3 separate regions of the Homo sapiens genome follow, and all the other regions are linked to region 2. Evidence: promoter capture Hi-C in 16 types of primary human blood cells and fetal thymus (Javierre and others, 2016). All regions are on one chromosome and are shown on one strand. Each heading gives the region's core, a stretch centred on a gene start or on the middle of the fragment in contact. The rest is flanking DNA. Distances are from core to core; before and after follow the strand shown.

Region 1 (4,412 bases), core at 1,544-4,043, 170 kb after region 2:
TTCCCCAGATAGTGCATATATGCAGAGGCATACATAGGTTACTCTGGGTACAATTTCAGGGATTTGAGGTCCCCCTGAAACCTCCAGTGGTTCCCAAGTTGAGAACCCCTGTGAGAGGTGTTTGCTAACAATGTGACAGATGAGAAGAGATGACTGTCCATGCCCTGCACAGAGCACATACCACAGTGCCCAGAGAGGTCTGTACATACTCGTTTCAGCCTGTTTTTAATAGAATTGGAAACAATCTGAATAGCCATCAGTAGGGGCCTGGGTAAATAAGCAAAGTCCATGTGTGCCATGGAGTAGCACACAACTGTTCCAAGAAAGGATGGTGTAGGTATAGATAGATGTAGCTCTCCAAGACATATTGTTGAATGGAAAAAAGCCTGTTGAAGAGTGATATACCTCACACATTATTGTGGGTTTTTTGTTTTTTTTTTTTTTTAAGACAGGGTCTCACTCTGTCACCCAGGCTGGAGTGCAGTGGTGCAATCTCAGCTCACTTCTGCCTCCATACGCCGGGTTCAAGGTGTCTCAACCTCCTGCATAGCTGGGATCACAGGCCACCATGCCCAGATAATTTTTGTGTTTTTAGTAGAGACGCGTTTTCGCCATGTTGACCAGGCCGGTCCCGAACTCCTGGTCTCAAGTGATTCACCCGCCTCGTTCTCCCAAAGTGCCGGGATTACAAGCATGAACCACTGTGCCCGGCCCCACACACATTATTTATGTAAAATCACTTAACAACGTTATTTCCTACAAATACAGAAAAATTTATGGGACTGGGTGCAGTGGCTCACACCTATAATCCCAGCACTTTGGGAGGCTGAGGTGGGTGGTCACTCGAGACCAGGAGTTCGAGACCAGCCTGGCCAACATGGTGAAACCCCGTCTCTACTAAAAATACAAAAATTAGCTGGGCCTGGTGGTGTGCACCTGTAATCCCAGCCACTTGGGAGGCTGAGCATGAAGATCACCTGAACCTGGGAGGCAGAGGTTGTGGTGAGCTGTGATATCACACCACTACATTCCCTGCACTCCAGCCTGGGCACCAGAGCAAGATACCCTGTCTCAAAAAAAAAAAAAAAAAAAGGCAAAAAAGCACAAGAATGATACCCAAGACAGTGCTAATAGTGGGAGTTCCTTTGGGGAGGAGGGAGGTAGAAGGTTCCTGGTCAAAGGTGACACAGCTCTGTAGTGCTTTAATTTTTTAATAAAGAGACTATATCCCTCTATTATTTGTGTACTTAAAATCACAAATAATTTTAAAATGCAATGCACATACCATGTGTATGGGGGAATGAGGGCAAGAGGAAGGGATTCTGAAGGAGGTGGTGTGGGGTAGAGCTTTTATATCAGACAAGCCTGTATTCCAGTCCTGACCTTGACAATTACCTGCCAGTGACTTCAGGCAAGTCACCTTACTCTCTGAGTCTCAGCCTCCTCATTTGAGAAGTCAGGATGACAATGTCTGCCTTCCAGGGCTCTTGTGTGGATATGGAGTAGGCCGTAGAATTCTTGGCACATAGTAGGTGCTCAGCGTATCAATCATAGCCATTATTGTTATTTCAAATTTCAGCCAAAAATAATCACTTGAGCTCTTAGTAGGTGACAGTTGGATTAAGGACATTGGGACTGTATCTGGTTCAATCAGGGATGACTTCCTGGGGGAGGAGGGGCTTGAGCTACTTAAATATATGTGGGAAGTGGGGCAGCATTGAGTTAGAGAGAGGGCTGTGTGCAGAGGCCAGGGAGGGATTATGCCTGTGTGCCTATTATTAGTAATGATATTACTTATTTCCATATTATAGACAAAGAGGGAGAGTCCAAGTAACTTGTCCACAGACACATAGCTAGTAAGTGTAGGGTGTTCACATGGAAGGGATGGGCAGAGGAAGAGAAATGGGAAAATGCAGGAAACTGGGATAGTTCTGTGGGAGGAGAAGGGAGAAAAAGAATGGGCTTTGTAATCAGAAAGGCTCCTGAAGAGAGGGATGTGGGGGATTTAACAGGCCAGCCATTGCCCTTTACTTAAAAAAAAAAATGCCCAGGGGAGATGTAGGACCTTAAGGTCTTACCTTTGCAAGACGCTCTTGACAGAGGCCACTGGCTCTCCATCTCCCTTGGGCCCAAGCAGAAAGGATTGGGGCCCCTCCCCACAGGAAGGGGTGCTAGGCTGACTAGTCCTAGGAGGCTGGGCGTCTTTTCCCCAGGAACCCTCCAAGAACTGGGTGGGTTGAGAGCTGGCTGGCAGTACTGTGCCAAATGAAGTCGCTGCATGCCCTGTAACCTGGCAATTCCGCTTCTTAGGTTTTCAGGCCGAGCCGTAACGGTTCCTGTCAAGGACGGTCATGGCAGGGTTGCTGGGGTGTTGGAGGGAACTTGGGTGCCTGTCGCCCTCAGAGTGGGTAAATAAATGTGGAAGGTGCCCACCAGAAACTAAATGTGCTCACAGCAACATGAATGAGGTTTAAAAATACAGTGCTGAGCGAAAACAATTAAGAAATATATCTATAATGTGTGTGTGTGTTTTTTATATATATATATATATATATATATATATATATTACTAATTGTGAAACTAAAAAATACATGCACTTGTTTTGCAAGGACACATACAAATGGTTGGCTATGGGTTAGGATGAGGAATGAGAATAAAAATGAGATAAATGCAGAGTGTGGTGAAATCCAGTTCCTCTGCAGGTGGAAAGGGTGGCCAAGCGGTCAACCCACATTTCTGTGCACATTGTGCCATCTAGTGGGCAAAGGGGCGTTCAGCTGCCCTGGTCCTGGAGCTGGTGCAACTATGGCACCATGACATCCTGGGCAGGTGCTGCCTCAGCTGGGCCCCCAGAGCAGAGGTGAGAGGTGAGTGCTGCCTGTCAAGTGGGGGCCAGGCACAGCCTGCTGTAGGCCTGGCCAGTGGGGCTGGTAGCCATTTCTGTTGCAGCAGGGAGGAGGGTTCAGACAGGCCTGCCTGCCTCCAGGAGCTGTCTGATGTCAGGGCTGGCTCTTCACCGCCTGCTATGGCAGGCAGGCAGGTGGTTCCTGAGAAGGGAGTGGCTGAGACTCTGATGCCAGATTTTCACATGTAGCCCTCCCTTCTGGCAGGAAAGAGAGCATCTGGCAGGATCATTGTGAAAGCAAAGAGGAGAGAGGAGAGCAGGTAGAGACACTCAGAGTCTAGAGAGAGCAATGACTACCTTGAGGTGGAGTACGGAGGACAGACCCTGGCACCAGACTGCCAGGGTTCACATCCCTTGGGCAAGTCCCCTGTGCATCAGTTTCCCCTCCTTGGAATGTAATAGTACGTACCTTGTAGGGTTGAAGTGAGTCAAAATAAGGCACTTAAAACAGGTCCCCTTTCCGGGTCAGGGCTGTGTAAGTGTTGTCCACTCTCAGTATCTGAGGTTCACCCAACTCCTGTAAAGCCAGCACCCTGCTCTCATCCTTCATGAGAGTCATGGGGCATGAACAGAATGCCCTGGGCTGATGGGGGTCACTGCAGCAGGGCCTGGGGCTATAGGCTAGGAAGGGACTCCAGCCATGGACCCAGGCCAAACTGTGGAGGGAGGTGGGGTGAAGCAGGGCGGGGCCTGGGGCTGGGGACACTGCATTCTTTTTTTGTTTTTTGAGACGGAGTTTCGCTCTCGTCACCCAGATTGGAGTGCAATGGCGCCATCTCGGGTTCAAGCGATTCTCCTGCCTCAGCCTCCCAAGTAGCTGGGATTACGGGCTCCTCCCACCACGCCCAGCTAATTTTTTGTATTTTTAGTAGAGACAGGGTTTCACCATGCTGGCCAGGCTGGTCTCGAACTCCTGACCTCAGGTGATCCGCCAACCTTGGCCTCCCAAAGTACTGGGATTTTACAGGCATGAGCCACCACGCCCAGCTGGACACCCCATTCTTGGGGTCTGTAAAAATACTTTCTTGGCCGGGTGTGGTAGCTCATTCCTGTAATCCTAGCACTTTGGGAGGCTAAGGAGGGTGGGTCACCTGAGATCAGGAGTTCGAGACCAGCTGGCCAACATGGTGAAAACCTGTCTCTACTAAAAATACAAAAATTAGCTGGGTGTGGTGGCACACGCCTGTAGTTTCAGCTACTCAGGAGGCTGAGGCAGGAAAATCGCTTGAACTCGGGAGGCAGAGGTTGCAGTGAGCCAAGATCGCACCATTGCACTCCAGCCTGGGCAACAAGAGTGAAACTCCTTCTCAGTCTTGGTTACCTCTGGGGCTTGACGGGCCCTGTCCTGCCCCACCTCTCTCTACAGCCTCTGGCCATTTATTTTAGCTGCCCCTCCCCACACACCAGCCTCTCCAGGCCCCTGCATCACAGTCATCTTTCTAAAGCACAGTACAGCTCAGCCTGTTGAAGAACCTGCCTTGGCTCCTCGTTGCCCAGAAATTCAAT
Region 2 (4,026 bases), core at 141-2,640:
GCCTGACCTAGAGGCCAGCCAGGAAAGAGAGGAAAAGAGTGGAAAAGAAGGGTACAGTAATAGGCATCGGTCCCTGGATCTAGAAGTATGGATAGTTAGGCGAGCTAGGAAATAGCACACAGTACATGTGGACAAGGAGATTAGGGTACATGTGCCTTTCGGGGAGCCTTGTCCTTAGGAGGTATGAACATACGGGCCCCTTCGTGTGCCTACCTGGTTATGTGCTTGTCCCCATGTGGGTACCTCTGAAAGGGGCTTTACCTGCAGGCCCATCCCCGCTTGTGTGCCTCTGCCCTAGTACAGGGTGCATGCGTGTGCACAAGTGTGCATGGGAGGCTGGAGTGGGGGTGCTCCTGGTACTTTCCTCCGTCTCTTTGTCTTCAGGTTCAGAGGACTGAGTACTAGGGACCCCAACTAGGGATATGAGGAAGCAGCAGGAGCCTCGTGAGAGAGAGGTGCACACCCCCCCCCACACACACACACACACACTCCCAATGACCACAGGCGGGACCCCCCGTACACATCTGACCTCCTTAGGGTCCCAGATCAGGTACCACCACCACTTCCCCATGGTACCCTCCTCGTTCTGTAGCCCGTACAAGCCGCCCTTCCTGGCCTTCAAGGTAGCATCCTCCTCTGTGAGACAGGATCCCCGCCACCGTCCCCACCCCGGTAGAGCATAGCCCCCACTCTCATAAGCCCAGGATCCGCGAGGCTCCGCCCCTAGGCCCCTCCCCCTGCCCGGGACCCCTGAGCCCCGCCCCCGGCGCGGCCCCTTCCCCGGCACCGCGGACAGCTCCGGCCGCCGGGTGGGGGCGGCGGCGCGGACTGCGGCTGCAGCGGCCGGCTCGGGGTGCGGGGCGCCGGCCGCGCTGCGGCGGAACCAGCGGGGGACGCGTGCGATGGGGGATGGGGGGCCAGGCTGCGGCCGCGCCCGGGGAAGGGGCGCCCTAGACTCTCACCTCCTCTCGGGCGGGGCCCTCGTCCGCCGCCGCCGCTGCCGCCGCCGCCGTGAGCTCCTCCGAGACCCCGGGGCCGCCACCGCCGCCGCCGCCGCCGGCGGCGCTCTCTCCCGCGGCCGAGCCAGGGGGGGACATGGCGTAGAGGGGGCGCGTCGAGCTCAGGACCTCCCGGGGGGCTGCCAGGGGCCGGGGGCATCCTGCGCGGGCCCTGGGGAGAGGACGGGAGGGGGCGGGGCCCTCGCTGCTCCCCACCCCCCGCCGGGGGAGGGGGCCCGGAAAGGGCACCGGGAGTAAGGGGCTGGGGGCTGAGGGTGGGAGGCAGGCTGGGGGGCCGGGCCGGGGGGGGCCGGGGCCGGGGGCGGGTGTCACCTTGAGGCCCTCGCGGCGCCGCTCCGCCTCCCGCCCGCTCCCGCCGCCGCCTTTTGTCTGAGCCGAGCTGGAGCCAGCGCGCCCCCCCTTTCCTGCCAGCGCAGCCGAGCCCCGCCCCCAGCCCCCCAAACTCCGCCTTCCCAAGCCTACCTAATAACCACCCCCCGAAGGGGTAAAGCAACAGGGACTCCCCACACCTCTTCCCCGCTCCCAGCCCTGCTCACTGCACCTCCCTCCCGCGCTCCTATCCTGGGAGAATCTGTGCCGCAACCCCTCTCCATCTGTTCTCCGTGGACTCGGTGCCCGAGGTTCAACCAACAGCACCCCCCCACACACACACACATCTCTGGTTCCCCCAAGTTCCCAGGGCAGAGGAGTGGGGAGAGGAAATTGATTCTTGGAACCCTAGGGAAGATCCTTACTCCCAGTTTCGTGGTGAAGGGTTAAGGCAGAAGCTAGACTTCCAGAGGAATGGAATAGGGGGAAAGGGAAGAGATTGAAGCTAGATGTGGGAAAGGACTAACAGAGGGCAGAGGGGAGGGCATTGGAACCGGCCTTCACTGAACCATCTTTCTTCCCTAAAAGAACAGCTCCAGAGAAGCAGTGAAGTGTGTGCAATACCCTAGGCTGGAGGGCAGGAAACCTGAGTTCTAATTCTGAATTCTGTATCTGTCATTAAGGAGTTATGTGACCTTGGGCAAGTGCCTTCCTGTCTCTGAGCCTTAATTTCTTCATCTGTGCAGTGAGGAAGTTGACTGGACAATTTCTAAGGCTCTGACTTGTAGGTGTAGGAAGCAAGCCAGGCTGAGCCACTGCAGGCAGCCTATCCTTTCAGGCCATCCACCCCACACTGCTTTTCCCTGTATCCCCTGGCACAGCAGGAAGGACCCTGACATTTATTCATTCATTCATTTCTGGATGTCTCCATTCAGTAAACAGGTGTTGGGTACCTATTGTGTGCCCAGTACAGAAATGAAACACAGTTTCCTTCCTGCAAGGAGCACAAAGTCTAATGGGGAGAAAAGAACATGAAAAACAACCATTATGAAGAATATAATAAAAGCCATGCATGATCAATCTTGTGCATACACAGTCACTGTGGAATCCTACTATGTGTCATTAGAGTCTTTGACATACAGTAACTGTTCTCCCCAATTACTCACAGGGAACCAAGGCAGAGGGAGAGTGAATGGCTTACTCAAGGTCACCTGCTAGCACTCACAGAGCTAGTCCTAGAATTCAGATCTTTCCCACTCAAAATCTATGGGGAATATTTGTGGGTAGGAAGTTAGTTTGGGGCAAAGCCTCGATGTCTGATTTTGGGGGATAGGGTACAAACACACTGATCTGCCCAGGATGTTCCTTCCCCTTGTTGGGGACAGGAGAGCCACTGCTCCCACCCCTCTAGTCCCACTCCTGGCCCTGCCTTCATTTTACTACTCTTCCCTTTCCAGGTGAGGTGAAGGTGGCTCTCTGTCCACCTATTGCTTAGAGCTATCCAGCCTGCATGGTCCTCTCCAGGTTGATGGGTCCATTCTCCCTGCCCAGAGGAAGGCGGCTGTCCAGAAGAGGCGGGGGTCTGGTTCACTCCCTTGGCAGAGGCAGAATCTCACTTGGTGGTTCATTCCAGCATCTCCTGCCCATGCTTTTTGGGAAGCTGGCCTCACAGCTAACTCCAGCCCCTCTTGTTCCAGTTTCAACCCCTTCCCCCACAGAGAGCAGAGCCCCTAACCTTGGCCTTTCCAAACCCACAGAGGATCCTTTCGTGCTCCCCATTTAGGCACCATAATCTTCCTCTTGACACCCACCCCCACTGCCTTCCTGTCTCCACTTCAAAGGGCTTTGGAGGAGGGACAGTTTAGCTCTTTTTGGCCAATGCTAGAGCTCCCAAGAGACAAAAGGCTACCCCTGCCTTCTCCATTCACACACAGTACCCTTCCCTGGAAGCTACAAGAAAGGGGGGTGAAGGAGGGGGCGGTGGAAGGAGCCAGCTGACCGGCTGGTCACCATGGAAACCAGGCCTGTTTCCTGAAGATGAGCCTAGCTGGGGTGGGTGGAGGTGGGGAGTGGGGGCACAAAGGGAACCAGAAAACAACAGAGAGAAAGACGAGGGGCCCAGCCTCAGAGAAGACTGGAGCTGAGGAGGCGAGGTCAGGTCCCTAGCCATGCTGTGGCCTAAGTCAAAGTCCCCAGGTCACCCTTTCAGATAACACTGCAATGGTCCCCCTCCCCATTCCTGGAGTGTTGGAAAGGATTCCTGTCAAGAGTGCAAGCTCTGGTAGTGGGGCCAGTGGGTGACTCAATGCTGACCTCATGTGGCCATAAAAGGGACTGCCACACACCTGTTACGGCTCAGAGCCAAACACCTGGCTGGGTTAAGTGGGTTTTTCCTAAAATTCAGCCTCTGTATGAATAAAAAGGAGGTCCTTGCACACTCCTGAGTTCTTACATCCTTGCAGAGGGCTCAGACACTCCCACCCTATGTGGTTTACCTCTTGATAAAGAAAAGAAGGTTCCACTAAAAAATATGTAAAAGTTTTGGATTAGATGAGAAGCCATCTCTGCACTTTCTATTTTAACTTGAGCAAGTCAACTCACCTCTCTGGGCCTCAGTTTCCCAACATTAAAATGGGGATGATAGTGTCAGATTTCGTGTGGATTTTTTTGTTTTTGTTTTTGTTTTTAGACTGAGTCT
Region 3 (3,983 bases), core at 577-3,076, 150 kb after region 2:
GTTTGGTTACTTGTCCAGGGTCATCTCACCAGTAAAAGTAAAGCTAGTCTCATTTGGTAGTCTGTGATTCTCTGTGTGTCAGATGTTAGTAGTTGCATACATTAGCTGCCTTCTTTTGCATTTGATTTTTCTGATCATAATTACATTTTGGCTGATGCTTCATGGGTTGTCTTAAGGAAAACATTTGGGAGTAAGTTTGGGATTTGAGGCTAAATTGTAGTTAATAAGCATTTAAAGGCCAGGTGTGGTGGGTGGCTCACACCCATAATCCCAGCACTTTGCGGGGCTGAGGCGGGAGGATTGCATGAACTCAGGAGTTCAAGGCCAGCCTGGGCAACATAGTGAGACCATCATCTCTACAAAAAAAAAAAAAAAAAAAAAAAAAACACAAAAAATTAGCCAGGCGTCCTGGTGCATGTCTGTGGTCCTGACTACTTGGGAGGCTGAGGTGGGAGGATCACCTGAGCTTGGGGAGTTCGGGACTGCAGTGAGCTGCAGTTGCACCACTACATTCCAGCATGGGTGACAGAGCAAGACTTGTCTCAAGGAAAGAAAAAAAAGTATGGAGTGTCTAGGTATTCCTGGGGAGGAGTGGATTCCCCTGCCCCACCCTAACATTCTTATTAAATAAAATCTTATCTGAGGTGGTTTGAACTTGTGCATAGCAAAGCTGTGTGTAAATACTACAGTGTAGAGGCTTTTCTCGGCAGACCTCTTGAATGGGCACCTCTGCTGCCAAACGTTTGGGTGGAAAAACAGGTGTGTTTTGCAGCTGGCTACAGGCCTTTCTGAAGCATGCTCTGAAGTGATGTTCAGGTGTTTCAGGGCACTGGCAGCCTCCATATTTGTTAGTGCTAGGGAGCAACAGGGTTGAGATTCTGAAAACTGGAGTCACAAGTCTTGGGTTGGTGTTTGCTCTTTTAGCTAACTCTTCAAGTTGGTTTCCCAAAGCCCACTTTCAGCTGTAGTATGGTGTAGGTCAGTTTTCCATGTTACAGTGTTTGGGAGACTGACCCAAATAAAGACTTTGGTCTTTGACTTGGCAAGAGCAGCCTTTGGCTTTGCTTTGCTGGCCTTGAGCTGTACAGGTGTTCTGGCCTTTACATTTGGGGGAAAGGTGATGTAGTGATAGACAACTTGGGTGGCTGCTTAGATAATTTACTTTCTTTTAGGGAGTTAAAGTGCTGGTTTCAGAAGGCATATGAATATCAAAAAGGGCAATAGTGTGCAGTTTTTCCTCTATGGAGGACTCGAGAAGAAGTCCCTGGCTGGGTTTATAACCAAGGGCTCATATTTTCCTCCTGCCTGTGGAAGTGATATAATAAGGAAGGCATTCTCCGTGCTGTTGTATTTTTTTATAGCAGAAGCTGTTGTGGGCCATTCTCCCTCTCCAACCCCAGAGTTAGAATGTGAATCAGCAAAATCGGAGCTACAGCTCTGTCTAATCATCTGTGTATCCTTTAACCACTAAGATTTATATTTTGTGACTAATGATCTTGTGCTGGAAGTGCCATCTCCCACACAAGTCCCCAAAGAAAACTGGCTTTAAGGGCTCTGACTTAGAAACCAATTTTTCCCCCTCTCGTTTTTCCTGCAGGATCTATCTTGGGATCCCATGGCTTTCTTTACTGGGCTCTGGGGCCCCTTCACCTGTGTAAGCAGAGTGCTGAGCCATCACTGTTTCAGGTAACTTTTCCCATTAAGTTCTTAAAACTGTGTCTTTGTGTAAGCTTCCTATCAGGGCTGGGTATTACGGTGACTAGAACAGGAGTAAAAACTCAGGGAGGTGGGCATGGGGTTGGGGAAAGCTAAAGTGATCAGGCTGAGCTGGCCTGGTTGGTCTGGTCACAGGATGGGGGATAGGTAAAGAGGTGATGTTGCTGTTAGAAGTGTGATGGGGAATGGCATATGGCGGAAGCTTTTACTCTTCAGTCCTTGCAAGACTCTTACAGTGAATCTGACATCTCTCAACCCTATCATTCCCCTAGAGCATTAAAATCCTTTTAAAAACGGAATTTTTTTAATTACAAAAATAATACATGCTTATTACCAAGAACTTGAGCATGATAGAAGTGTGACACCCTCCCCTCCTTGTAGATGCTAAGCCAGGAGAGCACAGGAGGCACGCTTGTTGGCAGACATGCCTCCTGGCCCCGTCATGCCCTCATCCCACAGGCATTTCCTGAGCACCGCACCTGGGGTTGGCCATACAGAGATGAAAGAGAGTTGCTTTCTGTCCTGAAAGAATTCTCACTGTCAGCCACAGGAGCAAACTTGAAAATAAGTAACTCTAAGAAAATGTGATAGAATATTATAATAGAGGATTGTACAGTGCTTTGGAAGGCGTCATATAGGAGCTGCTAGTGGAGGAAGAGGAGGAGAAAGAGTGGAGGCAGTCTTCTCAAAAGGGAGATGGGGGCAGATCCTGTCTAGGCCTCCAGGGAGAATTGGGAGGCAGGGTGTGCTTGGGGAAGTGGTTCCTGGTTCTCCTGCCCAGAGTGGTAGGATGTGTAGCCTTAGAAGGTAGGTAAATTGGGACAAGGTTGTTGACAGTGTAGATGGTGGGGAGTAGCATCACTTTTATATTCTAAAGAGAGCTCTTTGTTGGCAAAGTGAAGTGCAATGGGAACCAACTAGGACACTAATGTCACAGTCTTGGTGTAGGAGAGTGAGCTGCTAAATGAAGGAAGTTGTTGGCGGGATTGGAGAGAAAGGACATAGGTGCTTAGGGGGTGATATTAACAGGACTTGGTGGCCAGTTCATGTTGGTGGAGAGAGGTTTATGGCTTGGCTTCTGGTACTGCTGGAGAAGCCATCGTCTAGATAAGTGTAGCAGCAGGCGGAGGTTTGCAAGGGGAGGCAGTGAGATGAGTTTGGGACCTACTGAGTTTGCAGTATCTATAGAGCATGTTGTAGGGAGTTGAGGAGAGTGGAAATATATAGAACTAGAATATAGAAGAGAGGCGGGGCTGGAGATGGAATTTACTAGTTGGCAGCAATGCTAATGGGTAAGATTGCCCAGAGTAGGCATAAAAAACGAGAGAAGAGGTCCTAGGATTACCCTGCGGAAACACCAGCATCAGGTGCTAGCATCAGGAAAATAGGAATCCCACTGTAATCAGCTTGCTTAATAATACCTTGTCTGCCTTCAATAAGTACTCTCTAAAATTTTTTTTTCTAATGAGAAAAAATGTATTAAAACAGAAGATTGTTACCTTGACTTATTACCAGTTTCTGGTATGTTGTGTCAGAGAATTCCCTTAGTAAACTTACCCATATCTTCTAGTTCCCAGCAACATGTAAATAAGAAAATTAGGGGACCGGGCGCGGTGGCTCACGCCTGTAATCTCAGCCCTTTGGGAGGCCGAGGCGGGCGGATCATGAGGTCAGGAGATCGAGACCATCCTGGCTAACACGGTGAAACCCTGTCTCTACTAAAAAATACAAAAAATTAGCTGGGCATGGCAGCAGGCGCATGTATTCCTAGCTACTTGGGAGGCTGAGGCAGGAGAATGGTGTGAACCCGGGAGGTGGAGCTTGCAGTGAGCTGAGATGGCGCCACCGCACTCTAGCCTGGGCGACAGAGCGAGACTCCGTCTCAAAAAAAAAGAAAATTAGGGAATGGTGTATTCTGGGGAAGCAGGTTTTTCAGGATAGGCAGTGGGTGAGGCCTAGCCCATAAGGGATTCCTTTAAGTCCTTAGAGTCCTTTTGGAAAGCAAAGGCTTTAAGTTATGGCTGCTGTGAAGTTCATTGTCACAGAAAAATTGGGTTCTCTTTAAAACCCATCCAAATTGAGACCTTGACACAACAGCAGAAGCTCTCAATTGTGAGGAAACTGTTGTGGGTACAGATAAGTCTTCACAAAGTCCTGACTTTCTGTTGCTGCTCCTGGACAGCACTCTGCTCTGTGTGTGTTGCTGACATGTACATTCTCCCTAGCCTTGACCTCTCAGAGGCCTGTGCACCCTGACCATAAGAGAT

What was found. Contacts are between HindIII fragments. The CHiCAGO score rates a contact against its expected background, and 5 or more counts as called.
Region 1: a contact is called between a fragment that was not itself captured here and the fragment with the promoter of TMEM151B in region 2, in 7 of 17 cell types (naive B cells, M2 macrophages, megakaryocytes and 4 more). The highest score is 7.3, in naive B cells.
Region 3: a contact is called between a fragment that was not itself captured here and the fragment with the promoter of TMEM151B in region 2, in 1 of 17 cell types (naive B cells). The highest score is 5.3, in naive B cells.

The regions. Positions count from the first base shown.
Region 1 is chr6:44,095,240-44,099,651 of GRCh38, reverse strand. No RefSeq gene overlaps it. Among named protein-coding and RNA genes, the nearest start is that of SCIRT, 23 kb to the right of the region's middle. RefSeq lists an enhancer at 446-615 and silencers at 2,659-2,828, 2,606-2,900. The HindIII fragment of the contact is 6,139 bases long and covers 1-4,412 here.
Region 2 is chr6:44,267,814-44,271,839 of GRCh38, reverse strand. TMEM151B (transmembrane protein 151B) reads right to left here and starts at 1,390. Exons shown (of 3, transcript NM_001137560.2): 1 at 963-1,390. The coding sequence starts at 1,097. The HindIII fragment of the contact is 13,529 bases long and covers 1-4,026 here.
Region 3 is chr6:44,114,244-44,118,226 of GRCh38, reverse strand. MRPL14 (mitochondrial ribosomal protein L14) reads left to right here. Exons shown (of 3, transcript NM_032111.4): 2 at 1,598-1,686. The coding sequence starts at 1,616. Among named protein-coding and RNA genes, the nearest start is that of MRPL14, 11 kb to the left of the region's middle. RefSeq lists an enhancer at 852-1,021. The HindIII fragment of the contact is 188 bases long and covers 1,733-1,920 here.